Linked DNA regions of Homo sapiens: region 1 is linked to region 2. Evidence: promoter capture Hi-C in human tissues and cell types (Jung and others, 2019). All regions are on one chromosome and are shown on one strand. Each heading gives the region's core, a stretch centred on a gene start or on the middle of the fragment in contact. The rest is flanking DNA. Distances are from core to core; before and after follow the strand shown.

Evidence for each region. The method cuts DNA at HindIII sites, captures the fragments that hold promoters and counts their contacts. A contact is called where the count stands out against the background at its distance.
Region 1: a fragment that was not itself captured here is called in contact with the fragment with the promoter of TWSG1 in region 2 in 1 of the 25 tissues and cell types used here (heart left ventricle).

Annotation. Positions count from the first base shown.
Region 1 is chr18:8,645,736-8,651,318 of GRCh38, forward strand. No RefSeq gene overlaps it. Among named protein-coding and RNA genes, the nearest start is that of RAB12-AS1, 12 kb to the left of the region's middle. RefSeq lists enhancers at 667-1,289, 1,290-1,912. The HindIII fragment of the contact is 8,267 bases long and covers 1-5,583 here.
Region 2 is chr18:9,330,938-9,337,398 of GRCh38, forward strand. It overlaps TWSG1 (twisted gastrulation BMP signaling modulator 1), which reads left to right and starts at 3,836. Exons shown (of 5, transcript NM_020648.6): 1 at 3,836-3,983; 2 at 6,256-6,415. The coding sequence starts at 6,293. It overlaps TWSG1-DT (TWSG1 divergent transcript), which reads right to left and starts at 3,532. Exons shown (of 3, transcript NR_183523.1): 1 at 3,200-3,532. RefSeq lists a silencer at 3,537-4,326 and enhancers at 4,124-4,624, 4,387-4,436. The HindIII fragment of the contact is 24,059 bases long and covers 1-6,461 here.

The sequences.
Region 1 (5,583 bases), core at 2,640-5,139, 690 kb before region 2:
AAAGAAGCGGTAATGAAACCCAATGCAAGCAGAAGAAAAGAAATAATAAAGATGAAGCATAACTCAATGAAATTAAGAACATAATAATAGAGAAAAACCAAAACTATCCAAAGAACTCAGCAGCAACAAAAACCCCAATTAACAAATGTGCAAGGACTTGATAGACATTTCTCCGAAGAAAATATGCAAATAGCCAACAGCACATGGAAAGATGCTCAATGTCACTCATCATTAGGAAAATGCAGATTGAAACCACAAGATTCCACTTCACACCCATTAGGATGGCAATTATATGTGAAAAAATAACAAGTGTTGGTGAAGATGTAGAGAATTTGGAACTCTTATGTATTGCTAAGTGGGATATAAAATAGTGTAGCCACTGTGGAAATTGTATGGTGATTCCTCAAAAAATCAGGTATAGAATTACCATATGACCCAGCAATGTCACTTCTGCGTATATACCCAAAAGAACCGAAAACAGGTACTCAAACAGATATTTATACATTCATGTTCATAGCAGCATTGTTCAAAATAGCCAAAAGGTGGAAACAAAGAAAGTGTCGATTGGTGGATGAATGGGTAAACAAAATCTGGCATGTACATACATGTACGATAATTAATGGAATATTAACTATTCAGCCTTAAAAAGAAGCAACTTTTCTTTCTTTCTTTTTTTTTAATTTTATTTATTGGGTGGCTCACGAGATGGCTGAATAGGAACAGCTCCAGTCTGCAGCTATGAACGAGATCAATGCAGGAGGCAGGTGATATCTGCATTTCCATCTGAGGAACCCAGCTCATCTCACTGGGACTGGTTAGATAGTGGGTGCAGCCCCTGGAGGGCAAGCAGAAGCAGGGTGGGGTGTCACCTCACTCGGGAAGCACAAGGGGTCAGGGAACTCCCTCCCCTAGCCAAGGGAAGCCATGAGGGACTCTGCCATGAGGAACAGTGCATTCCGGCCCAGATACTATGCTTTTCCCATGGTCTTTGCAACCTGCAGACCAGGAGATTCCCTTGGGTGCCTACACCACCAGGGCCCTGGGTTTCAAGCACAAAACTGAGTGGCTGTTTGGGCAGACACTGAGCTAGCTGCAGCTTTTTTCATACTCCAGTGGAGCCTGGAATGCCAGTGAGACACAACCATTCACTCCTGTGGAAAGGGGGCTGAAGCCAGGGAGCCAAGTGGTCTAGCTCAGCAGATCCCACCCCCACGGAGCCCAGCAAGCTAAGATCCACTGGCTTGAAATTCTTGCTGCCAGCACAGCAGTCTGAAGTCGACCTGGGGCATTAGAGCTTGGTGGGGGGAGGGGTGTTCACCATTACTGAGGCTTGAGTAGGCAGTATTCCCTTCACAGTGTAAACAAAGCCCCTGAGAAGTTTGGACTGGGCGGAGCCCACCGCAGCACCGCAAAGCCACTGTAGCCAGACTGCCTCTCTAGATTCCTCCTCAATGGGCAGGGCATCTCTGAAAGAAAAGCAGCAGCCCCAGTCAGGGGCTTATAGATAAAACTCTCATCTCCCTGGGACAGAGCACCTGGGGGAAGGGGCGGCTGTGGGCGCAGCTTCAGCAGATTTAAACGTTCCTGCCTGCTGGCTCTGAAGAGAGCAGCAGATCTCCCAGCACAGTGCTCAAGATTTGCTAAGGGACAGACTACCTCCTCAAGTGAGTCCCTGACCCCCATGACTCCTGACTGGGAGACACCTCCCAGCAGGAGTCGACAGACACCTTATACAAGAGAGCTCCAGCTAGCATCTGGCAGGTGCCCCTCTGGGAGGAAGCTTCCAGAAGAAGGAACGTGCAGCAATCTTTGCTGTTCTGCGGCCTCTGCTGGTGATACTCAGGCAAACAGGGTCTGGAGTTGACCTCTAGCAAACTCCAGCAGACCTGTAGCAGAGGGGCCTGACTGTTAGAAGGAAAACCAACAAACAGAAAGGAATAGCATCAACAGCAACAAAAAGGACATCCACAAAAAAAAAAACCCATCCAAAGGTCACCAGCATCAAAGACCAAAGGTAGATAAATCCACGAAGATGAGGAAAAACCAGTGCAAAAAGGCCGAAAACTCCAAACACAAGAACACCTCTTCTCCTCCAAAGGATCATAACTCCTCACCAGCAAGGGAACAAAACTGGATGGAGAATGAGTTTGATGAATTGACAGAAGTAGACTTCAGAAGGTGGGTAATAACAAAATCCTCTGAGCTAAAGGAGCATGTTCTAACCCAATGCAAGGAAGCTAAGAACCTTGAAAAAAGGTTAGAAGAATTGCTAACTAGAATAACCAATTTAGAGAAGAACATAAATGACCTGATGGAGCTGAAAAACACAGCACGAGAACTTTGTAAAGCATACATAAGTATCAATAGCCGAATCAATCAAGCAGAAGAAAGGATATCAGAGATTGAAGATCAACTTAATGAAATTAAGCATGAAGACAAGATTAGAGAAAAAAGAATGAAAAGGAACAAAGCCTCCAAGAAATATGGGACTATGTGAAAAGACCAAACCTGCGTTTGATTGGTGTAGCTGAAAGTGACAGGGAGAATGGAACCAAGTTACAAAACACTCTTCAGGATATCTAGGAGAACTTCCGCAACCTAGCAAGAGAGGCCAACATTCAAATTCAGGAAATACGGAGAACGCCACAAAGATACTCCTCAAGAAGAGCAACCCCAAGGCACATAATCATCAGATTCAGCAAGGTTGAAATGAAGGAAAAAATGTTAGGGGCAGCCAGACAGAAAGGTCGGGTTACCCACAAAGGGAAGCCCATCAGACTAACAGCAGATCTCTCTGCAGAAACCATACAAGCCAGAAGAAAGTGGGGCCCAATATTCAACATTCTTAAAGAATTTTCAACCCAGAATTTCATATCCAGCCAAACTAAGCTTCATAAGCGAAGGAGAAATAAAATCCTTTACAGACGAGGAAATGCTGAGAGATTTTGTCACCACCAGGCCTGCCTTACAAGAGCTCCTGAAGGAAGCACTAAATATGGAAAGGAAAAACTGGCACCAGCCACTGCAAAAACATTCCAAATTGTAAAGACCATCAACACTATGAAGAAACTGCATCAATTAATAGGCAAAATAACCAGCTAGCATCATAATGATAGGATCAAGTTCACACATAACAATATTAACATAAATGTAAATGGGCTAAATACCCCAATTAAAAGACACAGAGTGGGCCAGGCACAGTGGCTCATGCCTGTAATCCCAGCACTTTGGGAGGCTGAGGTGGGTGAATCACCTGAGGTCAGGAGTTCGAGACCACCCTGGGCAATATGGCGAAACCCTGTCTCTACTAAAAATACAAAAAATTAGCTGGACATGGTGGCATGCACCTGTAATCCCAGCTACTCAGGAGGCTGAAGCAGGAGAATCACTTGAACCGGGGAGGCAGAGGTTGCAGTGAGCCAAGATCACACCACTGTACTCCAGCCTGGTGATGGAGCAAGACTCCATCTCAAAAAGAAAAAAAAGCAAACAAGCAAGCAAGCAGTGGGAAAGCAAGGAAGCAGTGGTTTCTGCCCATAGGCAGAGACCCCAACAATAGGTGAGAGGAAGTGAGGGCTATGGGCTGGGAGACAAGAGTGAAACTCCGTCTCAAAAAAAAAAGTCACACACTGGCAAATTGGATAAAGAGTCAAGACCCATCAGTGTGCTGTATTCAGGAGACCCATCTCATGTGCAAAGACACACATAGGCTCAAAATAAAGGGATGGAGGAATATTTACTAAGCAAATGGAAAGCAAAAAAAAAAGCAGGGGTTGCAATCCTAGTCTGATAAAACAGACTTTAAACCAACAAAGATCAAAAAGATAAAGAAGGACATTACATAATGGTAAAGGGATCAATGCAGCAAGAAAAGCTACCTATCCTAAATATATATGCACCCAATACAGGATTACCTAGATTCATAAAGCAAGTTCTCAGAGACCTACAAAGAGACTTAGACTCCCACACAATAAAATGGGAGACTTTAACACCCCACTGTCAATATTAGACAGATCAACAAGGCAGAAAATTAACAAGAACCAATGACAGAAACCACACGATTATCTCAATAGATGCAGAAAAGGCCTTTGATAAAATTCAACACCACTTCATGCTAAAAACTCTAGCTAAACTAGGTATTGATGGAACATATCTCAAAATAATAAGAGCTATTTATGACACACCCACAGCCAATATCATACTGAATGGGCAAAAGCTGGAAGCATTCCCTTTGAAAACCGGCACAAGACAAGGATGCCCTCTCTCACCACTCCTATTCAACATAGCATTGGAAGTTCTGGCCAGGGCAATCAGGCAAGATAAATAAATAAAGGGTATTCAATTAAGAAAAGAGGAAGTCAAATGGTCTCTGTTGTATATTTAGAAAACCCCATCACCTCAGCCCAAAATCTCCTTAAGCTGATAAGCAACTGCAGCAAAGTCTCAGGAAACAAAATCAATGTGCAAAAACCACAAGCATTCCTATACACCAATAATAGACAAACAGAGCCAAATCGTGAGTGAACTCCCATTCACAATTGCTACAAAGAGAATAAAATACCTAGGAATCCAACTTACAATGGATGTGAAGGACCTCTTCAAGGAGAACTACAAACCACTGCTCAAGGAAATAAAAGAGGACACAAACAAATGGAAAAACATTCCATGCTCATGGATTGGAAGAATCAATATCATGAAAATGACCATACTGCCCAAAGTAATTTATAGATTCAATGCTATCCCCATCAAGCTACCATTGACTTTCTTCACAGAATTAGAAAAAACTACTTTAAATTTCATAAGAACCAAAAAAGAGCCTGTATGGGCAAGACAATCCTAAGCAAAAAGAACAAATCTGGAGGCATCACATTACCTGACTTCAAACTATACTACAAGGCTACAGTAACCAAAACAGCATGGTACTGGTACCAAAACAGATATATAGATTGATGGAACAGAACAGAGGTCTCAGAAATAACACCACACATCTACAACCATCTGATCTTTGACAAACTTGACGAAAACAAGCGATGGGGAAAGGATTCCCTATTTAATAAATGGTGTTGGGAAAACTGGCTAGCCAAATGCAGAAAACTGAAACTGGACCCCTTCCTTGCACCTTATACAAAAATTGGATGGATTAAAGACTTAAACATAAGACCTAAAGCCATAAAAACCCTAGAAGAAAACCTAGGCAATACCATTCAGGACATAGGCATGGGCAAAGACTTCATGACTAAACCACCAAAAGCAATGTCAACAAGAACCAAAATTGACAAATGAGATCTAATTAAATTAAAGAGCTTCTGCACAGCAAAAGAAACTATCATCAGAGTGAACAGGCAACCTACAGGATGGAATAAAATTTTTGCAATCTACCCATCTGACAAAGGGCTATTATCCAGAATCTATAAGGAACTTAAACAAATTTACAAGAAAAAAACAACCCCATCAAAAAGTAGGTGAAGGATATGAACAGACACTTCTCAAAAGAAGACAATTTATGTGGTCAACAAACACATGAAAAAAAAGCTCATCATCACTGGTCATTAGAGAAATGCAAATCAAAACCACAGTGAAATA
Region 2 (6,461 bases), core at 2,586-5,085:
CCAGCCCTGAGAAGTGAGTTCTAGATCAGAAGTTCACAAACTACAATTGTCCTTGTTATAACCCCATGGCAGGCAGAATAATGCATCCCACCAACCCCTAAAGACTTCTGTATCCTAACCTGTGAATATGTTGTCTTATATGGCAAAAGGGCCTTTGGAAATGTGTTTAAGCCAAGCATCTTGAGATAGGGAGATTATCCTGGATTATCCAGGTGGGCTGGACATAATCCCAAGGCATTGTAAAGAGGGGTGGGAAGGTCAGAGTCATAGAGGGAGTGTGACTGTGTTCGAAGAGTTGAGACAAAGAGTGAGAAAAAGAGGAGGGAGGTATTGATTTGAAGATGCTAAAGCTGCTGGACTTGAAATGGAGGGAGGACCACAAACCAAAGACTCTAGGTGGCCTCTAGAAGCTAGAAAGGCAAGACAATGGGTTCTCTCCTAGAGCTTACAGAAGGAACATAGCCCTGCTGACACCCTGATTTTAGAATTCCTGGCCTCCAGAACTGTAAAGTAATAAATTCATTTCATTTATTTATTTATTTATTTATTTTTTGAGACAGGGTCTCACTCCCATGCTCAAGTTGGAGTGCAGTGGTGTGATCACAGCCCACTGCAGCCTCAACCTCCCAGGATCAAGTGATCCTCCTACCTCAGCCTCCCAAGTAGCTGGGACCACTGGTGTATGCCACCACACCTGACTAATTTTTACTTTTTTTTTAGTAGAGTTGGAGTTGTGCCATGTTGCCCTGGCTAGTTTTGAACTCCTGGGCTCAAGGCATCCTCCCAACTTGGCTTCCCAAAGTGCTGGGATTACAGGTGTGAGCCACTTCGCCCTGTCAAATTTGTGTTGTTTTAAGCCACTAAACATGAGGTAATTTGGTAGAGCAGCTGTGGCTGGCTGAGAGACTCCACCCACTGACACATCTGTATCCGATTGAGGATTGGGAGTGAATCCTTTGAACTTTTCATTGAACCCTACTAAGAAGCTCTATCACATTGTTGTCAGACTCTCTCACTTGCAAAGATCAGAAAGTCTTCTGGTGAAATAAAATAGCCACTGCAGTGACCCCCGTGGCTCCCAGATTCCCAAATGGCCAACCATTTGAGATCCGGAACCACTTGATATTCACCTGAGGGCTCAACTACCATTTGACCTTCCAGGTCCTGTCAAAGAGGATCTTTAATTTAAATGAAAAATAACTGTGTTACTTTTCTTATTATCAAATTAATACAAGCAAAGACATCAGAAAATGCAGACAAGCAAAAAGAAAAAAACATCATTAACAACAGACAACACTCCATCTCACTGAGATAACCACTAATACCATCATTATCTTTCCAGCACTTTAAAAATAACTCTAGTCCGGGCACCGTGGCTTGCACCTGTAATCCCAGCACTTTGGGAGGCCGAGGTGGGCAGATCACCAGGTCAGGAGTTCAAGACCAGCCTGGCCAACATAGTGAAACCCCATCTCTACTAAAAATACAAAAAATTAGCCGGGCGTGGTGGTGTGCGCCTGTAATCTCAGCTACTCGGGAGGCTGAGGCAGAAGAATCTCATGAACTCGGGAGGCGGAGGTTGTAGTGAGCCGAGATGGCAGCGTTGCACTCCCGCCCAGGTGAAAGTACAAGACTCTGTCTCAAAAACAAACAAACAACAACAAAATTAATTATTCAAAAACTATGCAGTACTTTAAAATTTTTTATGTATCATGAATATCTCTAGTCGCAATATTCATCTGCAACACTAATTGTCATAGTGTGATCTGGGGCTGCTAGGGAGGGATCCCAAGACATTTTCAGGAGGTTGTGAGCTCAAAATTATTTTAATTTTAATTCTAAGGCATTATTTGACTTTTCACCCTCATTCTCTCACAAGCAGAAACTACATAATACATGATACTGCAACAGTTTGAATACAGAAGCAGATATAAAAACAGTGGCTATTAAGTTTGATGTTAAAGGCAATAGCAAAAATCTAAAACCACGCTGTTCTTCCTACTGTTTTAAAATATATACTTATTTTTCATTAAATATTTGTTATCATATAATGGGTTTGTTATTTTTAAATGAAATAATGAATATGTAAAAAATTGTTTTAATTTTGAAAGTATTAACAGATGTAGCACACATACACAAAACCTCTTTGGCATGCTCCATAATTTTCAGGAGTGTAAAGGGATTCCGAGACGAAAAAGTTTGAGAACCTCTGATCTGCGGTATCACTTTTTAATGGCTGAATTAGTGCATTGATCGGAAGTTTCCTAATTCACTTAACTAGTATATAATGCCAAGAATAAGATTCTTATACTTAAATTTGGGTATACCCTTAATTATTTCTCTAGGATAATTTTCAAGGATGATTTTTAAAACCCATATTTATTGTACAAAAGTGGGCTAACATCAGTAATGCAATCCACCCCCAGCCAATCAGCTGTTTTCATTCTGTTTCCTTCCAATCAACAAAGGTGGGTGGTAGGCATTTACGATTTACCAGCATAAGGGTTTGACACTAGGTCATCATTTCCAAGGGAAGGTGCCCCGCGGACGGTCTGGTCTAGCGGGCTCTAACTTAATCACCCTGGAATCTTCTTTAAAAAGCAAATTCCGGCCGGGCACTATGGTTCACACCTGTCATCCCAACGATTTAGGAGACCGCGGTGGGAGGATCGCTTGAGCCCCGAAATTTGAAACCAGCTTGGGCAACATAGCAAGACCTCCATATCTACAAAAAAATAAAATATTAGCCAGGCGTGGTGGTGCGCGCCCGTAGCCCCAGCTACTCGGGAGGCTGAGGCGGGAGGATTGCTTGAGCCTAGGAGGTGGAGGCTGCAGCGAGCCTGATGTTGTCACTGCCCTCCAGCCTGGTGAGAGTGAGACCTTGTCTCAAAAGAAAAAAAAAAAAAAGCAACCCAGAGTTGTGGGAAAGAACTGAGTGTCATTCTCAATGTTTTTAACCTACGTGCTAACCGCGCACCTTCTACCTAGGCTGCGCGACCTCCGCGCCCGGATCCATGGCGCCCCCTCTTCTCGACTCCCGATGCAGAGCTCCGATGCAGAGCTCAGCGCCAGCCACTCACAAGGAGCCTGGCAAGTTTTATCGAATTGGTGAACGAAGTTCGAAAGCTCTACCCTTGGAGATCCTTATTCAGTAGGTCTGAGGTAGACCTAGGAAACGCGCATTTTATATAAATCCTACCTCTGACGGCAAACGACAAGGGGTTCACGTGCCAGCTCTCCTCGGCGACGCGCTAGGCTACTCAGCGCCCCGAGCCTCGGCCTCGCATCGCTAGAACCCGGCCATGGCCGCTTCCTTACAGGGCAGCTGTGAGGAGTCCTGAGGAATTTTAGTACACGGCATATCCTCAGCGTAGTGGCTAGCACATCACAAGGCTTTAATCTTAACACTGTTGATCTTAACACTGCAACTGAGGGGGCCCGGAGAATGGGCCTGACAGGAGGGTCTGTCGGAACCTGAGGGACTGGGGATCCCGGTGCGGAGAAGCGCGAAGGGAAATCGCGTTGAGCAGCTGGGGTGGGTGCGCCTGGGGGCGTGGCCTGCGGGCCGGCGGGCGGGCGGGAGCCTGCGGTGGAGGCGTGGCACGAGGGAGGGGCGAAACCGGGTGGCGCGGAGGGGGCGTGGCGTTGGGAGGGGCGGGGGGAGTGGGCGGGGCCGAGATGGGGGCGTGCGCGCTGACAGGAGCGCCGGGGGAGTGAGAGACGCCTCCTGGCGGGAGCTGGCGGCTGTGGACCCCAGCGGGGGCGGAGGGGAAGAGGGGAGCAGGGGCGGGGAGCAAGGAGCCGGGAGGAGGGCGGCGGGCGGGCCTGTCTCTTTAAGGTGCCCGAGGCTCGCGGGCGCTGCGCTGAGGGGACGGCGGGAGGCGCGGCCTGGCCTCGCACTCAAAGCCGCCGCAGCGCGCCCCGGGCTCGGCCGACCCGGCGGGGATCTAGGGGTGGGCGACTTCGCGGGACCGTGGCGCATGGTGAGTGGGAGCGGCTGGGGGGTTGTGCAGCCTCTTGGCCTCTTGGTTGGGAAGGGGCCGGGCGCCGAGCTCGGCCCTCTAGAGGCCCGGGGCCGCGGCGAGCTTCGCGGGGGCCGGGAGAAGCCTGGGCCCGGCTGCGCGGAGGACAAAGTGGGGGTGCTGGGCGCGGGCGCACAGGCCGGACGCCGGGAGCCAGCAGCATCTCTGCGCCGCTTTGGTCCAGACCATCTCTGGGCCGGCCCGCGTCCTCCGCAGCCCGCGTCGGCCGAGCCGGGGTGGGGGTGGTTCCGGGTGCCCGGTCCCCCACACCGCTACCGGCCTCTGCCTCGCGGGGCGTCCGGCGCCTTCGGGGCCCTGGCACCGCTCTACAGAGGCTCGGCTCTGCCCTGGTCGCTGTCAGTGCCATCTCCCTTAACGAGAAACTTGGGCGTGATGTATGCGAAACAATTTTGATGCATGATGGTTTCTAACTCCTTAGGAAAAGATAAGTCCTTTAATTCTATTACCTGATTTCGACATGGTCGTAGTTACTTGAATACTTTTTCCAGTGAAATTTGGGGAGTAAGATGAATTTGTGGAACATTTCATAAGACAACCGTAAAAGATGGGAAAGGGGGGAAATCCCAGTTTTCATGGTTGTAGGATGAAAACTAGTTCCACGACAGTTAGTCTCCAAATAACCTTATTTGGCCTCCGCAAATATGTACTGGTTGCTCCAGAAATCATCCTACTTGGTATGCGGCGTTAGATACATTAGAAAATTAGTTACTAACGGTCTTTAGGGAATGCTTTGTGAGCCTCAGTAACGATCACCAGGGTTTTCTCTTTCAAAATTGACTCATACCAGGTCCAAAGCCCTTTATTCTTTTCACCCTTTTATTATTTTTCCTTTAATGTACTTTGTAACACTTAGAATAAAAGTTTAGAGTAATCATAAATGCCCCCATAAACTCACTATTTATCCCTCTTACGTCAGTAGTCATTTATTTTAATTTATTATGTTTGATAGGGAGGTGTTTTAACCTGAAGAAATGATATCTTCCCGTATTTAAAGTTTAATAACTGTATACTGTTTGGCCCCTGTCAGACTGTGTTTGTGCTAGTCTTTTTTCCTTCTTCTTTTTGAACTGTAGTATCTTCTTAATAACTTTGAAGAATGTGTGGTACTAATAGAATTAAAAGAATATCTTGGCCGGGCGCGGTAGCTCACCCCTGTAATCCCACACTTTGGGAGGCCGAGGCGGGTGGATCACCTGAGGTCAGGAGATCGAGACCAGCCTGGCCAATATGGTGAAACCCCGTCTCTACTAAAAATACAAAAATTAGCGGGGCGTGGTGATAGGCTCCTGTGATCCCAGCTACTCGGGAGGCTGAGACAGGAGAATCGCATGAACCCGGGAGGCGGAGGTTGCAGTGAGCCGAGATTGCGCCACTGCACTCCAGCCTGGGCGACAGAGCGAGACAACGTCTAAAAGAAAAAAAAAAAAAAGAATATCGTCACATTCTAATAATTACCTAGAGTTTTTAATGCAATTAGTAATTAAACAGCCTTTTGTTATTTGCTCAATTATTTAAGAAGTGACTCTGTGGACTCTACTTCTTGCTTTGAGCTGCTTTATTCTGTCTAAATAAGCCTGAATAATTTCCATTTAAAATTTTGTTTTGATTCTAAGAATTAAAATTAAATATCTTAAAATTATAATACAATATTAATAGTTTTATATGGGCTTACAGTTGAATAATGGACCTAAAATTAAAGTTGAATAGTAGCAGTGCAGTATTGAAGCTAGTTATTTGCCTGATATACTCTCAAGTTACTGAGGGTTTAGATATACTCACTCTACTTTCACAGTCACCATTTCTGGATAGTCTGAGGAACTGTAGAGTTCTAGGTCCTTGAAGATGGCTATGAAGCCATTATTATACAAAATTATTGTTTATTTTTGAATGTTTATATAATCTTTCATTGAGAATGATCTTTAAATGATCACTCAAAAGTTTTTTGAAGGCCAGGCATGGTGGTATTGTCTGTAGTCCCAGATAACTGGGAGGCTGAGGTGGGAGGATCACTTGAACCCAGGAATTGAAGGCTGCAGTGAGCTATGATCACACCACTGTACTTCAGCCTGGGCAACAGAGCAAGACTCTAAAAAAGAAAGAAAAAGTATATTGACACAAACAATGAGTCTTAGTTTATGTTTTGTTTCTCATTTTTATATTTGTTTTTACCCTAGCACTTGCCTTTGAATTAAAGTTGTGTTTGTTTGTTTAGTTTCCTGGGAGTTACTGATCATCTTCTTTGAAGAAACATGAAGTTACACTATGTTGCTGTGCTTACTCTAGCCATCCTGATGTTCCTGACATGGCTTCCAGAATCACTGAGCTGTAACAAAGCACTCTGTGCTAGTGATGTGAGCAAATGCCTCATTCAGGTAGGACTAAGAGTACTTTTATTAATATCAAAATATATTGTAGAGC